7 separate regions of the Homo sapiens genome follow, and all the other regions are linked to region 1. Evidence: promoter capture Hi-C in 16 types of primary human blood cells and fetal thymus (Javierre and others, 2016). All regions are on one chromosome and are shown on one strand. Each heading gives the region's core, a stretch centred on a gene start or on the middle of the fragment in contact. The rest is flanking DNA. Distances are from core to core; before and after follow the strand shown. Region 1 holds the start of HSF2 (heat shock transcription factor 2). Region 2 overlaps MCM9 (minichromosome maintenance 9 homologous recombination repair factor). Region 3 overlaps MCM9 (minichromosome maintenance 9 homologous recombination repair factor). Region 4 overlaps GOPC (golgi associated PDZ and coiled-coil motif containing). Region 5 overlaps LOC124901388 (a long non-coding RNA gene). Region 6 overlaps NUS1 (NUS1 dehydrodolichyl diphosphate synthase subunit). Region 7 overlaps LOC124901389 (a long non-coding RNA gene).

Evidence for each region. Contacts are between HindIII fragments. The CHiCAGO score rates a contact against its expected background, and 5 or more counts as called.
Region 2: a contact is called between a fragment that was not itself captured here and the fragment with the promoter of HSF2 in region 1, in 2 of 17 cell types (naive B cells and activated CD4 T cells). The highest score is 5.5, in naive B cells.
Region 3: a contact is called between a fragment that was not itself captured here and the fragment with the promoter of HSF2 in region 1, in 1 of 17 cell types (non-activated CD4 T cells). The highest score is 5.4, in non-activated CD4 T cells.
Region 4: a fragment that was not itself captured here is called in contact with the fragment with the promoter of HSF2 in region 1 in 1 of 17 cell types (non-activated CD4 T cells); the score reaches 5.9 in non-activated CD4 T cells.
Region 5: a contact is called between a fragment that was not itself captured here and the fragment with the promoter of HSF2 in region 1, in 1 of 17 cell types (total B cells). The highest score is 5.7, in total B cells.
Region 6: a fragment that was not itself captured here is called in contact with the fragment with the promoter of HSF2 in region 1 in 6 of 17 cell types (non-activated CD4 T cells, total B cells, fetal thymus and 3 more); the score reaches 13.4 in non-activated CD4 T cells.
Region 7: a contact is called between a fragment that was not itself captured here and the fragment with the promoter of HSF2 in region 1, in 5 of 17 cell types (naive B cells, naive CD8 T cells, activated CD4 T cells and 2 more). The highest score is 8.1, in naive B cells.

Annotation. Positions count from the first base shown.
Region 1 is chr6:122,397,410-122,400,915 of GRCh38, forward strand. It overlaps HSF2 (heat shock transcription factor 2), which reads left to right and starts at 2,243. Exons shown (of 13, transcript NM_004506.4): 1 at 2,243-2,421. The coding sequence starts at 2,329. RefSeq lists silencers at 1,979-2,298, 2,569-2,688 and an enhancer at 2,539-3,038. The HindIII fragment of the contact is 3,471 bases long and covers 766-3,506 here.
Region 2 is chr6:118,903,843-118,907,354 of GRCh38, forward strand. The region is part of intron 8 of MCM9 (minichromosome maintenance 9 homologous recombination repair factor); the gene reads right to left. It overlaps ASF1A (anti-silencing function 1A histone chaperone), which reads left to right. Exons shown (of 4, transcript NM_014034.3): 3 at 1,810-1,986. Among named protein-coding and RNA genes, the nearest start is that of ASF1A, 11 kb to the left of the region's middle. The HindIII fragment of the contact is 4,304 bases long and covers 1-3,489 here.
Region 3 is chr6:118,881,504-118,884,931 of GRCh38, forward strand. The region is part of intron 8 of MCM9 (minichromosome maintenance 9 homologous recombination repair factor); the gene reads right to left. Among named protein-coding and RNA genes, the nearest start is that of ASF1A, 11 kb to the right of the region's middle. The HindIII fragment of the contact is 3,745 bases long and covers 28-3,428 here.
Region 4 is chr6:117,591,011-117,594,260 of GRCh38, forward strand. All of the region lies in intron 1 of GOPC (golgi associated PDZ and coiled-coil motif containing), which reads right to left. Among named protein-coding and RNA genes, the nearest start is that of GOPC, 9.9 kb to the right of the region's middle. The HindIII fragment of the contact is 4,523 bases long and covers 1-3,250 here.
Region 5 is chr6:118,671,675-118,675,313 of GRCh38, forward strand. All of the region lies in intron 1 of LOC124901388 (a long non-coding RNA gene), which reads left to right. It also overlaps a transcript of CEP85L not described here. Among named protein-coding and RNA genes, the nearest start is that of CEP85L, 22 kb to the left of the region's middle. The HindIII fragment of the contact is 6,498 bases long and covers 1-3,639 here.
Region 6 is chr6:117,678,103-117,681,434 of GRCh38, forward strand. All of the region lies in intron 1 of NUS1 (NUS1 dehydrodolichyl diphosphate synthase subunit), which reads left to right. Among named protein-coding and RNA genes, the nearest start is that of NUS1, 4.3 kb to the left of the region's middle. The HindIII fragment of the contact is 942 bases long and covers 912-1,853 here.
Region 7 is chr6:118,936,599-118,939,783 of GRCh38, forward strand. All of the region lies in intron 1 of LOC124901389 (a long non-coding RNA gene), which reads left to right. Among named protein-coding and RNA genes, the nearest start is that of MCM9, 3.0 kb to the left of the region's middle. The HindIII fragment of the contact is 727 bases long and covers 1,043-1,769 here.

The sequences.
Region 1 (3,506 bases), core at 993-3,492:
GTCACTGCCCTTATAAGTATTACAAATACTACCTGATAAGTGATATTGCTCATTTGCTTACTGGAAGGCTTCCCTCTCCAAGTGATTCAGACGCATGCTTAAGTTTGAGAACCATTTGTTTCAAACTTACGGTCTATAAGATGCCATACATTGGAAACAGAATCAGCTACACAATTTGCAAGATCCATTGCAAAATGAAAATGTACAGTCCCTTGTTCAAAAACTGAGAATTTCAAGAGGATGAGAACAGAGCATTAAACTAAGTATGGCACCCCACTAAGCCCAGCCCTATGAATGCCCAGCCTTTGAATGTCCAAAGACAAGTTTCTGCTTCTATCTAATCACACCTTCTTTTTTTAGAAGAAAATAATATAATGCCATGAAAGTAGGCCACATTTCCTCCTTAGACACTGCCATTCTTACCTCCTGAGCTGTTGCCCTCCATAGACAGACATGATCATTAGCTTCCTGGTTTTTGCTCATTCTGTTGTCTTCCTTTTAGCTATTCAAATATATTTGTACCTCAAGACCCAACTTAAGGTCCCTATCTGCCATGAAATCCTTCCTTACCACCTTAACCTACTAATCTGTCTTTTTAAACTTATCTAGTACTTATTTTATACAAAACATTTAGCTCTTTTTGTATATATTGAGTGCTGATCACTGTGGTCATATTGTTTCTTGAGTTTGAATATAAGCATCTTGAGCTTTGAAACAGTGTCATCATTGTACAATGGAAAGGGCACATACTTTTGAGCTCAATAAAGCTTGGGTGTAAATACTCTCCCATTTACTTGCTGTGACTGAAGAAATTAATCAACTTTTGAGTCTCAGAATCTTCTCTGGGAAAATGGGATAATAAAACCTAGTTCATTGGGTTGTTGTGAGGATTCAATAATATATGTAAAGCCCTTGGCATATATAAGGGCTCATCAAATATTACTTCCTCTATCACATGCATGCCTCCATATATCTGATTTTGCTTCAGCCAACATCCCAGTGCTGAGCACAAAGGCAGCATTCACTAAATACTTGCTCATTGGAAGAGATATACATATATCTTCCATTAAATGATAGATATATATTTAATGTACTATTTTACATTCACCCAAGAAGTAAACCAATCCTATGTTGAAGTTTTGTATGTTATCTCTGACTTGTTTGTAAGTTTTTGCCTTCACATGCTGACTTTTGTAAAAAAAAAAAGTCGAATTTTGTAGACTTCATATTTTCAAAGCATTTGCACAGCCATTATAGTATTAAAGACACTCTTAGTGGGTAAAAAGATAGATCTTATTCCCAGTCAAGAAATGGAAAAAACTGGCACTGGTGGCTAAGGAATTGTTCTAAATGACAGAACCAGTGTATTTTAATATACAGAAAAATGTCCAAGAGGCTTTATCTAAACTGAGATCTACTGACTCCTTTTCCATTGTTTTTTCCACTATACCAATCTCTTAGGCAAAAAAGACTATATCTGTAAAGTATACGCAGGAAAAACTATTTTAATTAACTAAAATAGTACAAATGAGTCTATTTCTTTTTATTCTGGGTACAGAGTAGGCACTTGATGACTGGATTAAAAACAGCACATGATATATCAATTGCAGTTCCTGGTTTACAGTTTTAAGTAATCGAGAGTGAGTTATTTAAACTGCTCTTTTTGATAAACATATTTTAAAGAGGGCTTTTTCTCCCAATGAAAATGTAAGAACAAGTTTCATTATTTTTAAGACAATTTCAATTTGGGGCCTAGCACATCATGCTTGAGAGCTGGTTTTTTCCTTATGCAAATGGATCCTTTCTCTAAACTGGTGCAAACCACACTTTGCCTGCCAAACTTATGACTCAAAGGCCCTGAAGGGTTTCTGTAGCCTCCCAGCCACAGCCCAGAAACCATAAGCTGTTTCCACGTGAAACATCCAAACACGGTCTCCCAAGCCTAAGTCTGCTACCATCAAGGCTTCTGTATAAAAGGCAAATGAGGAGGCAGCGCCCCCTTCTGCTCCCACCCCCTTCTGCTCCCACCCCCTTCATGTCAGCAGCAGCCAATCGCTTTTCTCTGTCGTGCAGTCGGCTCCTGGGATTGGCCAGGGACGGGACAGGCGCGGAACCACTGCGCGCACAGGCGGAGCGCGGAGACTTGTCCGTCACGTGCGGCCGCCCGGCCTCTCGGCCTTGCCGCGCGCCTGGCGGGGTTGGGGGGGCGGGGACCAAGATCTGCTGCGCCTGCGTTGTGGGCGTTCTCGGGGAGCTGCTGCCGTAGCTGCCGCCGCCGCTACCACCGCGTTCGGGTGTAGAATTTGGAATCCCTGCGCCGCGTTAACAATGAAGCAGAGTTCGAACGTGCCGGCTTTCCTCAGCAAGCTGTGGACGCTTGTGGAGGAAACCCACACTAACGAGTTCATCACCTGGAGCCAGGTACGGTCAGGCCACGGCGGCCTCTGAACCCCCTGAATAACCGCCTCCTCACTCGCTCTCCTGCGGGGTGGTCTCTCGCGGCCTTGCGGCTCGACGCTGTCTGCGAGGCCCGCGGTGCGGGGCCTTGGCGTTCAGCCTCGCGGGGGACCCCCTGTATTGTTCGCTCGGGGAGCCGCGGGGGCCCGGCCGGCAGCGCCGCTCTCCTCAGGCCGCGGTGGGGGAGGGGCGGCCCGCGCGGGGCGTAGCGGCCCAGGCAGCCCCTTAACGGTCCGGTCCGCGTTCGGAACCGGCCCGGCGTCGCGAGGGGAATCGGCGAGCCGAGGGCGCGGGAGCCTCTTTACTGCACACTCATCCTCCGTCCTCCCGCCCGGCTCAGGGGTTACAAATCGCGGAGGGGACAGGGAGCCCAGGGCCAGGATCATCAACGTGGGGCTTTATAGGAGGCGATCTTTACCTCAGCGACCGATCACCCCCAGTTCCCCCAACATTGCTTTGCATCTGGCATCTTTATGTGGAGAGCAGTCAGGGCAATAGACATACGTTCAAACGCAGGTTACTGCTTATCAGTTGGTTTTAAAAATATATAGAAATTAACAAATTATTCTTTTGAGATTCTGTGCTATTTGTATAATGGGATTATTAGGATTGTTTTAATAAAGTACTAATAGGTGGTAACTTAGTAGTTACTAAATTTCGCTGAACAGTTACCAGCAGAGGGGCATATCGATGTGTTGATTATTGGTTTGATCTCAACTCTGCTTCTAAACAAGCATGACCTTAGTCCAGCCCTTTATCTTGTCTGGCCTAAGTTAAATCTTTCATAAGATGGATGGGTTGCCTAGGTGACCCAAGACCTATATCAGTCCCAAATACAAGATTTTAGGCAGAATGATTATTTACATCCACAGTGCATGTGCATTAGAATACACTCCTAGGCTGTTGGAATCATTTTTATGAAGGAAAGTGGTTAACTCTTATTGTAGATGATCACCTATTGAGGCATATTTTCATATGTGTAGTTCTTGAGAAGAATAAGTGAAAACTACCTGCATAGTGCCTGGCACCTGTTAAGTGCTGAGTAAATG
Region 2 (3,512 bases), core at 88-2,587, 3.5 Mb before region 1:
TCCCAAAGTGCTAGGATTACAGGCGTGAGCCACCGTGCTCAGAGCGTGAAAAGATTATCACCACGTTTTAAAGAACCTGTGTGATTCATATCTCTAGAACAATGGTGGAGTTAAAGGAGGTATGAATGGAGATATTGGCTGGAGACAAACTGAGAAGGGCCTTGTCAATGAAGTTAAAGAACTGAGATTTTATCCCTTAGAAAAGGGAATACTCTTCTGAGGGTTTTAATAATCTGAGGTTTTAAAACCAAAGAGAAAGAACATATCTGTGTTAATGCTGGTAGCAGTGCAAATGATAGGCTAGAGCTGGGGAGATCAGTTAGAAAATTCTAAGCAATATTCCAGATAGGAGATGACATGAATTCAGCCTCCAGAAATGAAAAAAATGTTGAGACTGACTAGATGTAGGAGATAAGGGAGTGAAGCTGACTGAGGTTTTTAGCCTAGGACACTAGGTAGCGATTTTATGCCTTTTTGTATCATCTACCTGTGTTAGGCATACAGTAAACAACAGTCTTCAATTTTCACAAGCTAAGGCATTGGCTAAAGTGCTCATCTAGGCCCAGGAATATTCCTTGGTGCCCTGGCAACAGGTAAGCTAATTTGCTGGGACTTGATCCATTTACCACCCAGAATGGCTGCCTCAGATGCCTCAGCCATCACTGCCTGTGTTCCCCAGTCTGGCTCCTTCCATCCGGTCGTCTCATTACTACCTGCACCCTACCACGGATGGGGCCCTGCCCTTCGCTCATGCTCTTAGTCTAGTCTAACTCAGTTTACTTTCTGCATTCCTCAAGGTTCACCTTACAATAGCTTGATTTAAAACAAGGTCTTTGACATCTGCCTAAAGCAATCCTTACCTTCACTGGTTTCCACATTATGTGTGGTTTAAAGAGCATACTATATTGTAGAGTCTAGCAAAGTAACTATTCATAATAGAGGATTATTAATATTTTTTGAAAATCTGCTATGTAGCTATTTCCATCTCATTTTCAGTTTTGTTTTGTTTTGTTTGAGACGGAGTCTCACTCTGTCGCCAGGCTGGAGTGCAGTAGTGCGATCTCAGCTCACTGCAACTTCCACCTCCTCGGTTCAAGTGATTCTCCTGCCTCAGCCTCCCAAGTAGCTGGGACTACAGGCACCCGCCACCATGCCCAGCTAATTTTTGTGTTTTTAATAGAGATGGGGTTTCATCATGTTGGCCAGGATGGTCTCAATCTCTTGACCTCATGATCCACCCACCTTGGCCTCCCAAAGTGCTGGGATTACAAGTGTAAGCAACCACACCCAACCTCATTTTCAGTTTTATACTAATTTACTATTAGAATACCTGTGGGGGTGGTTGAGTGGGTATGAGAATATAAGTATCCTGGGTTGAAGAGGGAAACTGGTATAATAAACATTTGTGGCCAACAGTCTATGAGGAGATCATTTAATACTTACTAATTTAGGTCTGAAAATTATGACTGAAAAGGTTAAAATCAATTGCTGACTATAAAGGTTTTATAATGAATAGTGTATAATCCTTTCATGAACCACCATGCAGTGTAGCCAGAATTTCTTCCTTTTACAAGTGTAGTCATGCTTTCAAGTATCAAGGGTCCTTACATATATTGTGGCAAAACATGAACTGTCTTTTCCAGCTTATTATAAGTCAGTCAGAAATGAGCATTTTCCTTCCCAGTATGATTTCCAAGTTTTTCTTGTTGCATCCTCAACTGATGGTTCTAGGTAACTGAAACTCCAGTCTTGCCTGCCACTAACAGCCTTTTGTGTGTGTGTGTTTCTTTTCTTTTTAATTTATTCTAGGCTGATGCACCTAATCCAGGACTCATTCCAGATGCAGATGCAGTAGGCGTAACTGTTGTGCTAATTACTTGTACCTATCGAGGACAAGAATTTATTAGAGTTGGCTATTATGTAAATAATGAATATACTGAGACAGAATTAAGGGAAAATCCACCAGTAAAACCAGACTTTTCTAAGGTAATGTTCTTACTATTCCTTTTTAACTACTTTTACTATGCAATTTTTAAAGCAGTTGCTATTGCAATTTCATAGTATACTATTAAAATGGCTTTGAGATAAAATAAATATGAGGTCCTTATGCCAACTGGGCAAACTAATTATTGTTCCATTACCATGGATGACTTCAAACCCTACCTTCAGATGAGTCATTAGTAATTAATGTAGGCAGACACCTTGAGCATTTCTGGTTTAGAAAAATGAAAGTACCTCTTTTTTTTCTGAGATGGTTTCCTGCTCTGTTGCTCAGGCTGGAGCGCAGTGGCATGATCTCGGCTCACTGCAACCTCTGCCTCCTAGGTTCAAGCGATTCTCCTGTCTCAGCCTCCCAAGTAGCTGGGACTACAGGTGTATACCAACACGCCCAGATAATTTTTGTATTTTTAGTAGAGGTGGAGTTTCACCATGTTGGCCAGGGTAGTCTCCAACTCCTGACCTCAAGTGATCTGCCTACCTTGACCTCCCAAAGTGCTGGGATTACAGGTGTGAGCCACCACGCCCAGAGAAAGTACTTCTTGTAAGACAGGCCTTTGTTTATGGCTTTCTTTATAGCATTTCCCATATTGATTATTCCCATCATGATTCTGTTCATTTCAACCTTTAGGACAAACAAATGCATTTTTGTTGTACTAATTATTCAATGATGATATTTTTGTGTGTAACTCTTCCCAAAATTATGAAAGTTTTATGTTTGTTTTTCCTATGAATACGGTTATCTCAAAACACCTATACGCTTTATCTGCTATTCTTAGAAGTTAAACTAACAGTCTTAAATATTTCTGGTACTGAAAACAGCTTAAATTCTGAGTGAGAAGCTGAAATCTAGGATTCAGCATTCTTAAAGATACTTAGTATTTTCTGATTTTTCACTGGGAACTATAACAGTTTGGTAACTGGTGATTTTGTGAGAGTGCAGAGTAAATGAAGTTGAACCATGCAAGAAAAATTACATGACAATAGAATAGAATGTTCTCATGTTCTTTCTGATAATAAGGCCGGACTATTTTTCACCCTTGTTGTACCTTCCATTGATCCAATTTGTTATCCCTGAAGCACCTTATATAGCACAAAAGAAACAGGACTGTTTCTAAGAATGAGCCATCTTTAAAAGGTGTAGGAAACCATTAATAATAAGTTGTATTTGACAATTTTTCATTTTCCTTTGAAAACATACCAATCTAAACAACATAGTAGCTTGTTAAATAAAGCATCTTCTGAAGCATTCATTTTCAAAAATGAGGAGATTCTTTCTTTTAGAAAACAGAAGTATAGGAGTTAAATAGTTAAAAAGCCAGATGAATCCCCTCAGATTCTCCGTATCTTGTTTCTGTTAATCTAAAATAACTTCTTTGCTACAGCCCTAGTCGTTACATCTTATTAGTTATATTTAAGGTACTTAACTTGAATTATACCTTTGTATATGAACTTAGCCCTTTAGGAGTACTAACATGAACCATTTTATTAAGCTTCTATTTGTATATGGTGAT
Region 3 (3,428 bases), core at 650-3,149, 3.5 Mb before region 1:
GAGGACATGGAACTAGTGACCAAATAAAGCTTCATTAAAAACACCAAGGGAGGAAAAATGGCACCAGAAATTACTAGCAAACCAGGAATAATGACTGCACTTAGAAAAACTGAACAGTGAAAACAGCGTTAAAAACATCACTTCAGAGGTTTCACTTCTGCAATGGCAGTGTGAGGAGCTCCATGGACATCCTCCTCACTGAAGCAAGTATAACTGGTGAAAATTATTTTTTAAAATCCAACCATTTATACAGACTATGGAAAATCTAAGGGCATACAGTAAATGAAGAAACATTTATTCATTGAAATCTAAAACTTCATAAGAATAGTGAGAGTCTAAGACACTTAAATCATGACCTGCTTCCTGCCTCTCCCCTTCTCTTCTTGCTTAGCTGGATGGAGGCTTCACTACAGGTGAATGTGGTCAAGAAGAGGAGCTCCCTATGAGCTCTTAATCAAGGGATAAGATATCGTACCAGGAGGGGTAGAAAGCATTTCTTATCCCCTCCACGTGTGAGGTACAGAAGCTAAATTCCTGGTGACTGTGGCCAAAAGGTCACGATCTTCCTTCCTCCACCCAATCCCAACGCACAGAGTAGAGGATCTACCCTAGGTGTGACAGGCAAAGAATCCTCGGCACCCCAAATGCCTTCAATCCAGCTGACTCATAAGGTAAAGGTTCCACCTGGAAAGACAAAGCCAATAAGGGCAGAGGCTACCATTTCCGCCCCCTGGCTGGAGCAGTAGCTCAGAGAGTTTGACCAGGGGGAGAGAGAGTCCACAAAAACAGGGAAAGGAAAATCTGAATCTTCCCCCACAAGAAACTGACTTTATTTGGAACACAGTGCAGGGAAATTCAAGCCTAATGGAGATTTTGGTAGCAAGTAATAAAAAGGCTGGTAGCTCTATTACAGCTGTATGCTAAACCATAGGCCAGCTAGTTTACCATAGAGAACCAGGGAAACAGCCAACAAGAGCACTTCTGGGGTCAGAACAAACCTCAAGTACTGGATTCAAAAAGTATCCCTGACCAAATTTAATTGAACCAGAGTGCTGAGCAACTTATCCCCAGGGCATTGCCAAAAAGAACAGAGCAATCAACAACTAGAGCCTACCAGCCGAGTATGATACCAAACAGCACAGATAGCTTAACAGAGATCAAGGAGAGAGTCAAGGAAAGGTTGGTTAAAATTATCATCCTAAGAGTGACTGTACACACACGTAAAGGCTGTTGCCTCTGAGGAGTAACATCAGCGACTTCACACTGTGAGGAGACACAGACTTCAAGAAATGAACCTAGCCAAGTTACTAAACAAGCAAACAACAATAAAAAAAAGGATAAAAAACGAGGCCTGGAGGAGAATTAATATAAAGAACTGGTATAATACATTAAATTAAAATATCCGGTTTTTAACAAAGAAGTATAAGATGTGCAAAAAAACAGGAAAATGTGGCCCACACACAGGGAGAAAAAGCAGACAACAGAAGCTGCCTGTGAGAGGATCCAGATTTCAAATGTAGTGGGCAAAGCCTTCAAAGTAGCCATTTTACATGTGCTCAAAGATGCAAAAAAAAAAAAAAAAAAAGGGATGATGACAATGTCTCAACAAATAGAGAATATCAATAAGAGATAAAAAGGATTTTTAAAAACCAAGTAAGAATTCTGGATTTGAAATGTACAATAACTGAAACAAAAAATTCACTAGATAGCTCAAGAGTAAACCTGAAATTGCAGAAGAAAAAGTCAGCAAACTTTAAGAGAGATCAGTTGAAATTATGCAATCCAAAGAACAGAGGTAAAGGGCAAGATAAAAAATGAGCAGAGTGTCAAAGAAATGTTGTACACCTTTAATCAGAATAATATATATATATTGGGAGTACCAGAAGGAGGGGAACTAAAAGGAGTAGAAAAAAAGTTAGAAAAAAATGACTGAAAACTCTCCAAATTTGATGAAAAACAATGGACTATACATTCAAGAAGCTCAACAAAATCCAAGTAGGATATATGTTTTAAAAAATCCACACCCATAAATCATAGCAGAAATGCTGAAAACTGAAGATAAAGAGAAAATTTTAAATCAATAAGAGAACAACTCTTCATTTAAAAGGGAGCCACAATAAAATTAAGAGCTGACTTCTAATCAGAAACAGTGGAGGCCAGAGGCAGTGGGATTACATATTCAAAGTGCTGAAAGAAAAAAAAAAATCGAACCCGGAGTCTGATATCCAGCAAAACTATCTTTCAAAAATTATGGAAAAATAAAGACATTCCCAGATAAACAAAAACTGGGAGCATCAGTAGCTAGCAGACATGCCTTAAAAGAATTACTAAAGGAGGTTCTTTAAGCCAAAAGCAAATCTCTCTGGGTGATAACTCAAATTGAAAAAAGAATGAGCACTGGCAAAGGTAATTATGTAACTAGAAAAAACAGTTTAGAGACACATATCTTTTCTAAACTGATTTTAAAAGCAATTGTATAAAAAAGTATATAATTGTATTGTTGGGCCTATAACATATAGAAATGCAATATATTTGGCAGTAACAGCAAAAGAATGCAGGTGGAAAGAAAGCTATATTGGATTAAGGAAATGACTCCAGATGGTAACTCAAATCTACAAGAACAAATGAAGAGAGCCAGAAATAGTAATTAAGAAAGTTAATATAACAAACTCTTGCTCTTCCTTCTTTTCTGAGCTTCTTCAAAAGGTATAAAATTACATAAAACAATAATTATACCAATGTATTTTTGTGTTTGTAACATATACAGATGAAATATGTGTAACAATTACAGCATAAAAAGGGGAAAATGGTATAGAATTGACAACATTTCTGTATCTCAGTGAAATAAAATAAGTCTACATCTGAAACACTGATACATTAAGTAAGCCCTATAACAACCACTAAGGAAATCATAACAAAAATAGAGAAAAATCATTAAAGAAATAAAAAATGCTATACTAGAAAATATTCATTTGATACAAAGGAAAGCAGTAAAAAAGGAATTTAAAAAAAAACAAAACAACTTGAGACATATAGAAGACAAAATATAAAATGGCAGATAGGAATGCAACCGTATCAGTAACATTAAATGTGAATGGACTGAATAATCCAATCAAAAGGCATATATTGACAGCATGGATACAAAAAAGAAAAACCAACTATATGCTATCTACAAGAGGTATTTTAGATTCAAAGAAAGAAATGGGTTGAAAGTAAAAGGATGGAAAAACATACGTATGTAAATATCAATGAGAAAGCCGGAGTATTTATACTAATACCAGACAAAAGATTTTTAAATTTAAAAAATTATTAGCAATTAAAATGGGCATTTTAAAAGGATAAAATCATCAACTCATAAGGATAATAAAACTAGGCAGATCAACAAAGAACCCTAAGATTAAAACAATAGCCAGCTGGGCGCAGTGGCT
Region 4 (3,250 bases), core at 101-2,600, 4.8 Mb before region 1:
CCCAGCTAATTTTGTATATTTAGTAGAGATGGGGTTTCCCCATGTTAGCCAGGCTGATCTCAAACTCCTGACCTCAGGTGATCTGCCCACCTCAGTCTCCCAAAGTGCTGGGATTACAGGCGTGAACCACCACACCCGGCCCCAAATGTCCAATTTTAAAAAGGGGCCAAATACCAATTCTGTAATCCTTATATAAACCAATCTGATATCTATACCAAAGGAAGTACTCAGCAATGTGGTTTGGGAGCATGGAAGCAAAGAATACAAAAAACAAACAAAAAGCTCCTAGAAACCAAAATAAGTTCACAAAAAGATAATGCTGCCTTCTAAATCAGCTTCACAAAGCATTTGATGGTTCAAACTATTTCCCCTAAAACATGGTTCTGACCTTCAAACAGCTTACATTCTAGAGGTAGAAAGATGTGGTAAACGCTAATTATAGTACAATGTAACAAATCTAAAAGTACAAATAAGTTCAAGGGCTTAGGGCAGCCTCTGCCTATAAAGAGCAGAGAGGAGTGGAGTAAGGAAAGCCCTCTCTGAGACAATGACGTAAGTGGAGTCTTGAAAGATGAGTGTGTGTTTGATACTGTAGACAAAGGGTATAGAGAAGGCATTATACACCAAAGCCTATGTGAAAGTACAGGTGCCATAAAAGAGCAAGGCCTATTTACAGAACTGCAAATAGATCAGTTTTATTGAGGCAAAAGCAGCTAAGAAGGGGTGATAAGAGATAAGGAGAGACAGACAGGCACACTGATCACCGGGCCAAAGAATTTGAATTTTAGAGAGATACAGAAAGAAGAATGACAGAATTAGGTTTGTCTTTTTAAATACAAACCACTAGTATGAATCACTCTAGAATGATCAGGCAACCAAAGGATGGTTTGGAAGGAATAATGATTAGGAGACTATGTTAGGAACACCCGAGAAGAATAAGGACCTTAATTATGCAAAATATCCTAATCTTATCTCATTATCTTTCCCAGACCTGCTCCTCCTTTTCCTGTATTCCTTACTTCAGTAAATAGTAATGTATAAACTTCCTAGGGCTGTTACAAAAAATTAGCACAAGGCTGGGCACGGTGGCTCACGCCTGTAATCCCAGCACTTTGGGAGGCCAAGGCGGGAGGATCACTTGAAGTCAGGAGTTCGAGACGAACCTGGCCAACATGGTGAAACCTTGTCTCTACTAAAAATATAAAAATTAGCCGGGCATGGTGGCTGGCGCCTGCAATCCCAGCTGCTCAGGAGGCTGAGGCAGGAGAATTGCTTGAACCCAGGAGGCAGAGGTTGCAGTGAGCCGAGATTGTGCCACTGCACTCCAGCATGGGCAACAGAGTGAGACTCTGTCAAAAAAAAAAAATTACCACAAACGTGGTGGCTTAAAACAACAACATAAGTTTATTCTTTCACATTTCAGGATGCCCCAAGTTTGAAATAAGGTATGACAGGGCTGGCTCTTTCTGGAGATCCTGTGCCTCTCTCCCAGCTTTTGGTGCTGTTGGCAATCACTGGCATCCCTTGGCTTGTAGATACATCACTCCAATCTCTGCTTCTATCATCACATAGCCTTCTTCTCTGTGTCTGTGTGTGGCCTTTTCTGTCTCCTATCAGCACACTTTCATTGGATTTAGGGCCCCCTCTAATCCACTATAATCTTACCTCCATCTTTACATAATTACACCTGCAAAGACCCTCTTTCTAAATAAGGTCACATTCTGAGGTTTTGGGGGTGGATATGAATTTTGGAGGGATACGATTCAACCCACTACAGATACTGATCAATCATTTCCCAAACAGAAATGCAGTGTTATCCTTAACCCTTTCTCTTATCTCCTGCATCTACATAATTATCAAATCCTGTCAATTCTCCTTCCTTAGTCTTCAATTTATCTCCTTTTCATCAGCCCCATTACCACTTTCACTTCAATAACACACTTGTCTGTATAACAAACTCCTTTGCTATAACATTGAATAAACCTAGTTATTACTCTCATTACTGTGCCTGTACCTAAACAGATATGCATTGCTAGAGAAAATCACACAACAGTACAGACCGGTTGCACCATAATTTATGATAACTAACCCCAAGCCATTCCTCAACAATGCCTGGCAGTCCTGTTTCTCTGGCCAATTGGCTCTCCCACTCTTCCATTACTATCTCAAACCTCTTCTACTAGCCTCATGCTCTTACTCTCACCTACTTTTAGCAACTGACGTGGGCTCCTATTTTACAGAAAAAAAAAAGCCATCAGACAGAAACTTCCACAACCTCCTACTGTCTGCTCCCATTCTCTCCCTCTTCTAAGTAGCTGTTATTACAAAATCTTACTAATATTAACTACCCCACTCTTTTTCTATATTTGGCTTTTCTCTCAAGTAGATGCTTCTCACAGACTTATGTTTTATTTGTTTTTATTTAAAAACAAAATGAAAACAAAACCTCCCTTGTACCCTACAATCTCACTTCTTGCTATCTATTCAGCCACACTCACTCTTTCTGTCTGCTTCTCTCTCCACCTCCTCCATCCCCCATCAGACATAATGTGTTTGTGCAGAGACTGATTTCTCTAGCTCCGTAGCCTCAGGCCTCTTACTTAATCCCTGTAAAGTTGGAGTAACTATACTAATAAACCTGTTTCCAGGACTGTTGTGAGAATTGGATGAATCAGTCTATGTAAAAGACTCAGAAGAGAGGTTGGCCCATGGTAACTGATCAATAAAGTTGGCAATATTGTTATTGCTAATAATATAACACATTCATCTATCTATTCAGGCAACCAGCTGCACAAGATTGTCACTTGGATTTATCCTGAACTCCCTCATCCCTCTGTTCCAATCCATCTCTAGGTTTTTTTTATTTTTACCTCTCCAGTTTCTCTTGTTCTGAATACCTTCTCCTACCTCTATTATCTTACTCCACACTATCATAATCTCACATAAACAGAAACCTTCTAAACAATTTTCTGCATTCATTCATGTCATTCTCTGCAATTTTCTCCATACCATAGTCAGAGTGAACTATTCTAACTTCATATCTGAGGCTACGAACTGGTTTAAAAGACTTCCCACGATTATGATAAAGCCCCAAATATTTTTGCATGGCCATAAAGTCATGTAGAAATAGTCCCTCTCTGTCTGTTCAAACTTATCTTGTGCCTTGCTTCTTTTGCCCTCTTCTCTTGTTACACATACCAACTATCTCTCGAATCTTCAAATGCACTATGCGCTTGCCCACCACAGGTGC
Region 5 (3,639 bases), core at 1,022-3,521, 3.7 Mb before region 1:
TGTTTATAATTCCAGCACTTTGGGAGGCTGAGGAGGGTGGATCACTTGAGGTCAGGAGTTCGACACCAGCCTGGCCAACATGGTGAAACCCCGTCTCTACTAAAAATACAAAAATCAGTTAGGCATGGTGGCCTGTGCTTGTGATCCCAGCTGCTTGGGAGGCTGAAGCACGATAATTGCTTGAACACAGAGGTGGATGTTGCAGTGAGCTGAGATGGTGCCACTGAACTCCAGCCTGGGCGAAAGAGCGAGACTCTATCCCCCAAAAATAAATAAAAGGACAAAAATTGTCTTTCTTCAAGCTGTTTGAAATAGGGAGGAAGGTTTTTCTTTACAAATAATTTGACGTATTATTCTCTTTTTTTGTTTTGTTTTTGTTTTGAGACAGGGTTTCATCTGTTGCCCAGGTTGTAGTGCAGTGGTGCGATCTCAGCTCACTGCAACCTCTCCTTCCTGGGCTCAAGCGATTCTCCTGCCTCAGCCTCCTGAGTAGCTGTGATTACAGGTGCATGCCACCAGGCCTAGCTAATTTTCATATTTTTTAGTAGAGATGGGGTTTTGCCACGTTGGCCAGGCAAGTCTCGAACTCCTGGCCTCAAGTGATCTGCCCACCTTGGCCTCCCAAAATGCTGGGATTGCAGGCGTGAGCCACTGCGCCAGGCTTGATATATTATATTATTCTTTTAATTATTAAAGTTAATTTTTTTTAATATTTGTTGAATATTGACTATGTACTCAGATGGTGCTAGCTGTTATGGACGATATAAAGATATTAATAAATAAGATACTTGAATCTTTAAGATGCCCCATGGCCAGCCATTGTGGCTCACATCTGTAATCCCAGCACTCTGGGAGGCTGAGACAGGTGGATCACTGAGCCCAGCAGTTCGAGACCAGCCTGGGCAACATGGTGAGACTTCATTTCTACAAAAAATGCAAAACTTAGCTGGGCATGGTGGCACACACCTGTAATCTCAGCTACTCAGGAAGCTGAGACAGGAGAATCACTTGAGCCTGGGAAGCAGAGGTTGCAGTGAGCTGAGATCGTGTCTCTGCACTCCAACCTGGGCAACAAAGTGAGATCCTGTCTCAGAAGAAGAAAGAAGAAAGAAGAAGGAGGAGGAAGGAGGAGGAAGGAGAAGGAGGAGGAAGAGGAGGAGGAGGAAGAGGAGGAGGAAGAAGAAGAAGAAAAGAGAAGACAATGACAACGAAGAAGAAGAGAAAGAAGAGGAGGAGGGAGGAGGAGGAGGAGCTCCCATGTGTCTACATTACAAAGACAACTTGGTTTCCTTGGGTGTAATTGAGGTTCACTGCAAGAATGATGAAGAAAGATGAGGGAGGCAATGTGGAAGGACTAGCAACCTGCAACAGAAGCATGATCTGGCCTCCTGGTTCTAGTGCAGTGCTCTAATACATCAAGAGATTAGTTGCCAAGGTTGGGGGCAGGACAAGTATAGGAAACACCAGCATAAACACAAAATAAGAGTTAAAGATGAGGAAAATAGAAACTTGAACTAGTCAGGGTCACTAGATAAAAGCAAAGAATAATCAATAGAAACAGAGCCAAATCAGAAGCTGAAAGAATGGTTCTGATTCAAGATATTCATCTGAGTTTACATGTTTTAACTACCATTGAATATCCAAAGGGATATGAAAATATGAATTGGCACTTGCTGTGAAATTTAGAAGATTTCCAGTAAAGTGTTCTATGTTTACAGGCAAATGTGCCATATAGGGAAGTCAGAGAGGGGCAAATACCAGTCCCACCAGCAACTGTAGAAAGTCCAGTAAAGATAGAGTCTACACAAGGCAATATCTCATGGCATCCCAGCTTGCCCTTCATATAGACAGCGTACTGAGTAGTATCTCAGAAACCAGTGAGAAATTCTTTGGCACAATGGTGAGGTCTGTGGGCCCTACCACCTCTGCCCTACTCCCACAGACACTTGGAATGCCGATTTATTAAAGTAACTCTGGTAAATCTTGAAATTTCCTTTCTCCCATTGACTGTATCTAATATTTCAACAGGACCCCCAAACAATTCTGAAATTAACTGTGAACTCCACCCATGGACATAAACACAATCATCAGAATAAACAAACCAATGAACCATCTTCTAGATTAAAAGACTTAGTTGTAATGTAAAAAAGGAAATTAACCAGAGGAATAAACTTAAATGACCCCACTCGTGAAAGAGTTAATAATAAAACCAAAACAAAATAAAACAAAAATCTTTAGAAAAATCTCTAAATCTTAAAAAATCTAGAAAGATGCTGAGTTACCAACAAGATTCAAAAGAACATTACACCATATGCACACCATATGCAAAATTTAACACTAAATTGATCATAGGCCTAATTGTAAGAGCTAAAACTATAAAATTCTTACTAGAGAACAGGGGCATAAATATTTTTGACCTTGGAAAAGGCAGTGGTTTCTTAGATATGACACCAAAAACACGGATAACAATAGAAACAAAGAGATTGTACTTAAATAAATTGTACTTCATAAAAATTATGAATATTTGTGCTTCAAAGAAAACCTCAAGAAAGTGAAGAGAAAACCAGTGGGCTGGGCATGGTGGCTCACGCCTGTAATCCCAGCACTTTGGGAGGCCAAGGCGGGTGGATCACAAGATCAGGAGTTCGAGACCAGCCTGGCCAACATGGTGAAACACTGTCTCTACTAAAAATAAAAAAATTAGCTGGGCATGGTGACAGGTGCCTGTAATCCCAGCTACTTGGGAGGCTGAAGCAGGAGAATTGCTTGAACCCAGGAGGTGGACATTGTAGTGAGCCGAGATTGCGCCACTGTACTCCAGCCTGGGCGGCAGGGTAAGACTCCATCTCAAAAAAAAAAAAAAGAGAGAAAACCAACAGAATGAGAGAAAATATTTGCAAATCAAATAACTGATAAGGGATTTGTATCCAGGACTTTTACAACTCAACAACAAAAAGACAATCTGATTTTAAAGCTATCTGAATAGACATTGCTCCAAAGAAGATATACGCATGACCATAAAGCAAGTGAAATGATGCTCAACATTATTAGTTATTAGAGAAATGCAAATCATAACCATAATGAGACACCATGTCACATCCTGTAGAAAGGCTATCATTTTTAAAAAAGACATAAAAGGCATTGACGAGGATGTGGAGAAATTGGAATCCTCATACACTGCTGGTGGAAATGTAAAATGATGCAGCTACTTTGGAAAAACAATTTGGCAGTTCCTCAGAAAGTTAAACACAGACTTACCATATGACTTAGCAATTCTACTCCCAGGTATTTACCCAAGAGAAATAACATGTTTACACAATAACCTATATACAAACATTCATACCAACATTATTCATAATAGCCCAAAAATAGAAATAACTCAAATGTCTGTCAACTCATAAATGGATAAACAAAGTGTTACACACACACCCACACATGCACTCACATACAAGGGCATATTATTCAGCAATAAAAATGGAGTGCTGTTACATGCTACAACATGGATGAACTTTGAAAACATTATACTAAGTGAAAGAATCCCGACACAAAAACCACATATTTTATGATTCCACATAAAATATATACACTTTATATTATATATATTGTCTATATATATAGGCAAATTCATAGAAACAGTAG
Region 6 (3,332 bases), core at 133-2,632, 4.7 Mb before region 1:
TAGTTGCTAAAAGAAAAATGATTAGTAATTAAAAGGAAGAAGTAAGCTAAGCCAAGTTTTGGCTGAGAACTGAAAGGCACCTTAAGGAGCATTTTCAGTGAAAGGGCTTACAGGATTTTGTATCTTAACTGTAAAATCAGTTTTTTTGTTTGTTTTTTTTAAAAGAATAAGAAATATTCCTGAAATAAGAGACCTTCAATTAGTCCATTCTTGGTTTTGATTCGTTCATACATTCATTTACAGGTGACAGTTGGGGTCTGTTAAGTACCAGATACTCTTCCAGACATGGGAATGCAGCAGTGTACTCATGGAACTTAGATTTCAGTGGGAGTCTGACAAATAATATACGTGGGTAAATATGTGGTAATGTAAGTGCAATGAGGAAAAGTAAAGCAGAGAAGGGAAGATAGGAATGTTGAAAGTCAGTGGTGTAGGAAGGGGTACAGTTTTAAATAGGGAGGCCAAGGAGAGGCTCTTTGAATATAGACTTGAAAATATAGGCCATGTGGATATGTAAGAATCACTCAGAGGGAGTATAGACATGTAAGCTTTATTTAGTGTTTCTTTTTCAGTGGTTTTTTTTTTTTTTTTTTTTTGAGACGGAGTCTCGCTCTGTCACCCAGGCTGGAGTGCAGTGGTGTAATCTAGGCTCACTGCAACCTCCGTCTCCCAGATTCAAGTTCTCCTGTCTCAGCCTCCCCAAGTAGCTGGGACTACAGGTGATGCGCGCCACCCCGCCCTGCTAATTTTTGTATTTTCAGTAGAGACAGGGTTTTGCCATATTGGCCAGGCTGGTCTCAAACTCCTGACCTCAGGTGATCTGCCTGCCTCAGCCTCCCAAAGTGCTGGGATTACAGGTGTGAGCCACTGCGCCCGGCCATATTCAGTGTTTCTAAATAAATGTCTATTTAAGCTTATTTCTAGATAGATATTTAACTATGAAAAATCCTATTGACATACTCGTAAATGCCACTGGGATACAAGAAGTACAAGAAATGGTGTCTCTTAAAGAGTTTCCACTCAAGTAAGGATGTCCATTAAAAATTAACACAAGCTAATATAGAAATGCTAAGTGAATGGCAGATACTTTAAGGAGCGAAAAATGGAAAATTTCCCGGGTTACCTCCATATTTGTCTGGTAAGGAAGGGAGCAACACCTGAGCTGGACCTAGTCAAAAAGATAGAATTGGGATTGGCGTGAACAGTGTTCTCTGTGTGTGTGAATGGGGATTTCCCTAATGGCAGCATTCTCATTAGACTAGGTTCAGTAATAGCATTGAGTAGAGTGTTGGGAGCAGTGAATTTATGTAATGAACAGTTGGGAAATGAGGTAGGATGAAGGCTTGGACAGCTATTCTGGTTACCTACTGCTTTGTAGAAATCTACCCAAAGCATAGTGTTTTAAAACAACAATTTATATATTGACTTAGTTCAGTTGGGCAGTTTTTCCTTTGGGTCACTCATAGCTTTCATTCAGATAGAGTCTGGGACCCAAAGGTTTCTCCTTATGTCTGGTGCCTGGTTTTTGATGGCTGAAATAGATGGGGCAGGTTGGTCATCTGGCTTCACATGGTCTGGAGGTTGACTTCAGGGTAACCAGTTAACTAACTTCCCCCAGAACAAATGTTTCCAGAGACTTGGCCAAAGGCTGAAGCTGAAAGATGTCTTAGGACCTAACCTAGGAAATCATGCAGTGTTATTTTTGCTATGTTCTCTTGGTCAGAGAAGTCTCACATCTGTTCTGCATCAAGAAAGTGGAGAAATGGACTTCACCTCTCAATGAGAAAATGGCTTGTGTAGAAAGGTTGGGTGAGGATTTGAAGGGAGATGGACGGGCAGCCACTTTGAAGACAAGCTTACCACCTTACATTTTATTCTGTCCTACACCCCTTTGCTCTCAAATTTGTACTTAAATTCGTTCTAATTATGGTTGGATCTAGATAACAACATTTAATCCTTAGACTAAAAGATCTATTATATTGACCTTAATTTGACTGCCAGCAAACTGATCTTTTTGTTTTTCACTACCTGCAATATTTCTTGATTATAATAGAGTCTGCAAGTAATTCTTTCATCTTTCAAAAATTCAGGTTGTTCTCTCAGGACAGTGATCAGGAATTTTTTGAGTTCAGAATTCTAGCGAGATTTGGCTGTTCTGTCTATATGATTATAATTTAAGAAATGACCATAACTGGGATGGTACAAGAACCAGGGGTTGGGGTAAATGGATTTTATTGTTCTAGCCTTAGCAGTGTTGTTTGCCTGTGTCTCACATGCAGGTACACTTGGCTCCAAGTTATCTGGATATGTATTGTTATCTTAAGTGATGGAACTTGTTCTTATTTCCTGGCTTTATTGTGCCTTGCTGGGAACCTTGCTGTTGATTGGTATTTTTCAAAACCTGTCTGTGGACCATCTGTGAATTAGTCATTGGGGATGCTTATAAAAAATGCAGATTCAACACACTTAGTAATCAAACTTAATGAGGGAACTGGGACCTGGGCGTCTCTGTTTTTATCAAGCTACCTGTATGATACTTCTGCACACTGAAGTTTAACCCTAACACAGATCAAAGGATACTCTGCTACTTGCCTTACATTAGATTATTTATATTTCATGTTCCTTTTCATGATTGAGGATAATTTGGGGTAAGCCTTAGGATTATTTGCTGTAAATTGGAATGATCCAGAATAAGGCATTGCCTTCTGTGTGAGAATTCAACAGTAAGACAACAAATTTTTTTTGTGTGCTGCTCTTTCTAGTGCTATTTCCTTAGTTTATTTAAATCGAAGCTAGGTTGCTTTTGAAATGGTTTTTGGGTACAGGTTTCTCACAGTAACATTTTAAAAGTCTGCCCAGTGTATCCTATCTTTTCAACCTGTTTCTCAATGCTTTGCATACCTTTTGCTATGTCTGTATTTAGGTATTTAATGTTCCAGTTTCCTGGAACTCCCTCTTCTCCTTTTTCTGGCAAATGGCTGTATGCCTACCAAGAGGCTATTGTTCATCTTTTCCGAGTCAATCCTAAATATCACCTTGTATATTTTTGCCTTTCTTGACTATTCACTCCGTTCCCTATCTTACTATATCTCTGAATCTCCTCAGAACTTCAAACATCTCTAAAGGTACTTCTGTTCTCTGCTTTGTGTAGTCATATTTGTATGTATATGTGCATAAACTTTCTTACTAGATTATAAGCTCCACAGATGCTATCCATCCTTCTCATTTTTGCTTTTCTTACAGAGTGTATCTTGGTGTTATGCATGTAATGAATAGTTAATATGTGTTCCTTGAATTCAAAGAAGGGCCGCATTTCCTGTAGATAAGAATAA
Region 7 (3,185 bases), core at 156-2,655, 3.5 Mb before region 1:
GGAGGTAGTGGTCAGGCTCTTTTTAACAATCAGCTCTGGAGGCAACTAACAGAATGAGAACTCATTATGCAATGGCAGCACTAAGTTTTCCTGAAGGATCTGCCCCTGTGACCCAGACACCCCCAACTAGGCCCCACACTTGGGATCAGATTTTAAGATGAGATTTGGAAGGGAGAAATACTCAAACTATGTCAGATAGTGTGTAAAAATATGATTGGGGGTTTTGTTGTTGTTGTTACAGGTTCTTGCTCTGTTGCTCAGGCTGGAGTGCAGTGGTGTGATCATGGCCCACTGCAACCTCTGTCTGCCAGGTTCAAGCAATCCTCCTACCTCAGCCCCCTAAGTAGCTGGGTGATATGGTTTGGCTGTGTGTCCCCACCCAAATCTCACCTTAAATTGTAATCCCCAGGAGTCTGGTGGGAGGTGATTGAATCATGGGGCGAACTTCCCCCTTGCTCTTCTCATGATAGTGAGTTCTCATGAGATCAGGTTTTTTGAAAGTGTCTGGCACTTCCCCCTCACTCATTCTCTCTCTCTGGCAGTTCCCCCTCACTCATTCTCCCTCTCTCTCCCGCTCTGCTATGGTAAGACGTGCTTGCTTCCCCTTTGCCATCTGCCATGAATATAAGTTTCCCGAGGCCTCCTAGTCATGCTTTCTATTAAGCCTGCAGAACTGTGAGTCAATTAAACCTCTTTTTGTCATAAATTGCCCAGTCTCAGGTAGTTTTTTATAGCAGTGTGAAAACAGACTAATACATTGGAATTATAGGTCTGTGCCACCACACCTGGCTAATATTTTGGTATTTTTTTGTAGAGATAGGGTCTCACTATGTTGCCCAGGCTGGTATAATTGAATTTTTAACATTAATCTTGTATTTGCAATTTTGTAAAAACCACTTATGAGTTCTAACAGCTTTTCTTGTGGATTTTGCTAGATTTTCTATATATTCAGGATTTGTTATCTATGAATAAAGACAGTTTTACTTCCTTTCTATTCTGGAGGCCTTTTATTTCTTTTTCTTGTCTTTTTGCACTGACTAGAAGCTTGAGTACGGTGTTGGATAAAAGTGATGAGACCAGACATCCTTTCTTTGCTTCTGATCTTAGAGGGAAAGTTATCAGTCTTTTACTCTTAAATATGGATGTTAGCCCAGGGTTTTTTGTAGATGCCCTTTATTAAGATGTAGGAAGATTTGAGCACTTTTATCAAGAATGAATGTTGGATTTCATTAAGGCTTTTCTACATGTGTGGAAATGATCACTTTGCTTTTTTTTTCTTTTAGTTTCATATTTTATATATAGATTGAATTGTGTCCCTCCAAAAAAGATATATTGAAGTTATAATCCCCAGTCCCTTTAAATGTCACTTGTTTGGAAATAAGGTCTTTATAGAGGTAATTGAGATATTAGGAATTAGGATGGGCAGTAATCCAATATGACTTGTGTCCTTATAAAAAGGATAAATTTTATGGCTGGGCACAGTGGCTCACGCCTGTAATCCCAGCACTTTGGGAGGCCGAGGCGGGCGGATCATGAGGTCAAGAGATTGAGACCATCCCGGCCAACATGGTGGAACACCGTCTCTACTAAAAATACAAAAAAAAATTAGCTGGGTGTGGTGGCATGCGCCTGTAGTCCCAGCTACTTGGGAGGCTGAGGCAGGAAAATTGCTTGAACCCAGGAGGTGGAGGTTGCAGTGAGCCAAGGTCACGCCACTGCACTGTAGCCTGGTGACAGGGCAAGACTCCGTCTCAAAAGAAAAAAGAAAAAGCTTATAAAAAGGAAAATTTGGGCACAGATACACACACAGCAAGAATACCACATGAAGAGACACAGAAAAGATGGCCATCTACAAGCCAAGGAACACCTGAAATTACCAGAAGCTAAGAGAGAGACCTGGACAGATCCCTCCCTAGCACCTTCAGGAGGAGGATTTCCCTGTTGATATTTGGATTTTGTACTTCTGGCCTCCAGAACTGTGAGACAGTAAATTTTGCTTGTTCTGAGCCATTCAGTTGGTGGTACTTTGTTATGGCAGCCCTGGGAAACTAATACATCAATTGATACATGAATGTTAGATCAACTGCGCGTTTCTGAAATAATCTCCATTTGGTAATGATGTATTCATCTTTTTTATATATTGTTGAATTTGCTAACATACATCAATGTTTTTATTATACTTTAAGTTCTGGGATACATGTGCAGAACATGCAGGTTTGTTACATAGGTATACATGTGCCATGGTAGTTTGCTGCACCCATCAACCCGTCATCTACATTAGGTACTTCTTCTAATGCTATCCCTCCCCTAGCTCCACATCCCCTGACAGGCCCCAGTGTGTGATGTTCTCCTCCCTATGACCATGTGTTCTCGTTGTTCAAATCCCACGTATGAGTGAGAACATGCGGTGTTTGGTTTTCTGTTCTTGTGTTAGTTTGCTGAGAATGATGGTTTCCAGCTTCATCCATGTCCCTGCAAAGGACATGAACTCATCCTTTTTACATGATTTTAATTTTGTAACTTCTCCCTTTAATTTATTTTTACAGTTTTTATTGTGAGAATAGTCCATGAGGTTGACAAAAACTCAAGCCATGCTCTCTAATAGATTCCACTCCCCTCCTCAGAAAAGAACTGTCCTCTTTAAACTCAGTCAGTGTTAAGAGGATCATTACTGAATTTACAGATTCATTCTGCATAGATTTGGCTTCCTAAGAAGAGTATTTAAAGGGTGGAGCAAATGGCTAAAAACAAGGCTCTACCAATCATTCCCCCTCCACCCCTTAGGAACACCAAACTTAACAACTGTCTACACAAAGAACACAGTTATAAGAACCAAAAATCAGATGAGCACTCACAGTACCTGGTTTTAACTTCATATCACTAAAAGATCAATGAAGAGGGTAAGAAAGACAGTCTTGAATTGCAGATGCATCCCTCCCCCATACCTGGGCAGTGTCCACATGGTGTGGAGAGAGAATCTGTGCACTTGGGAGAGGGATAGCATAGAGATTATGGGACTTTACGTTGAAGTGAGTGCTTCCCTGTGACAGTGGAAAGCAAAATCAGGCTGCACTCAGCTGAAGCCCACCCGCAGAAGGAGTGTATAAACCAGCACTAGCCAGAGGGGAATCACCCATCCCAGAAGTCAGAACTTGAGTTCTGGCAAACCTCACCACCATGATTAA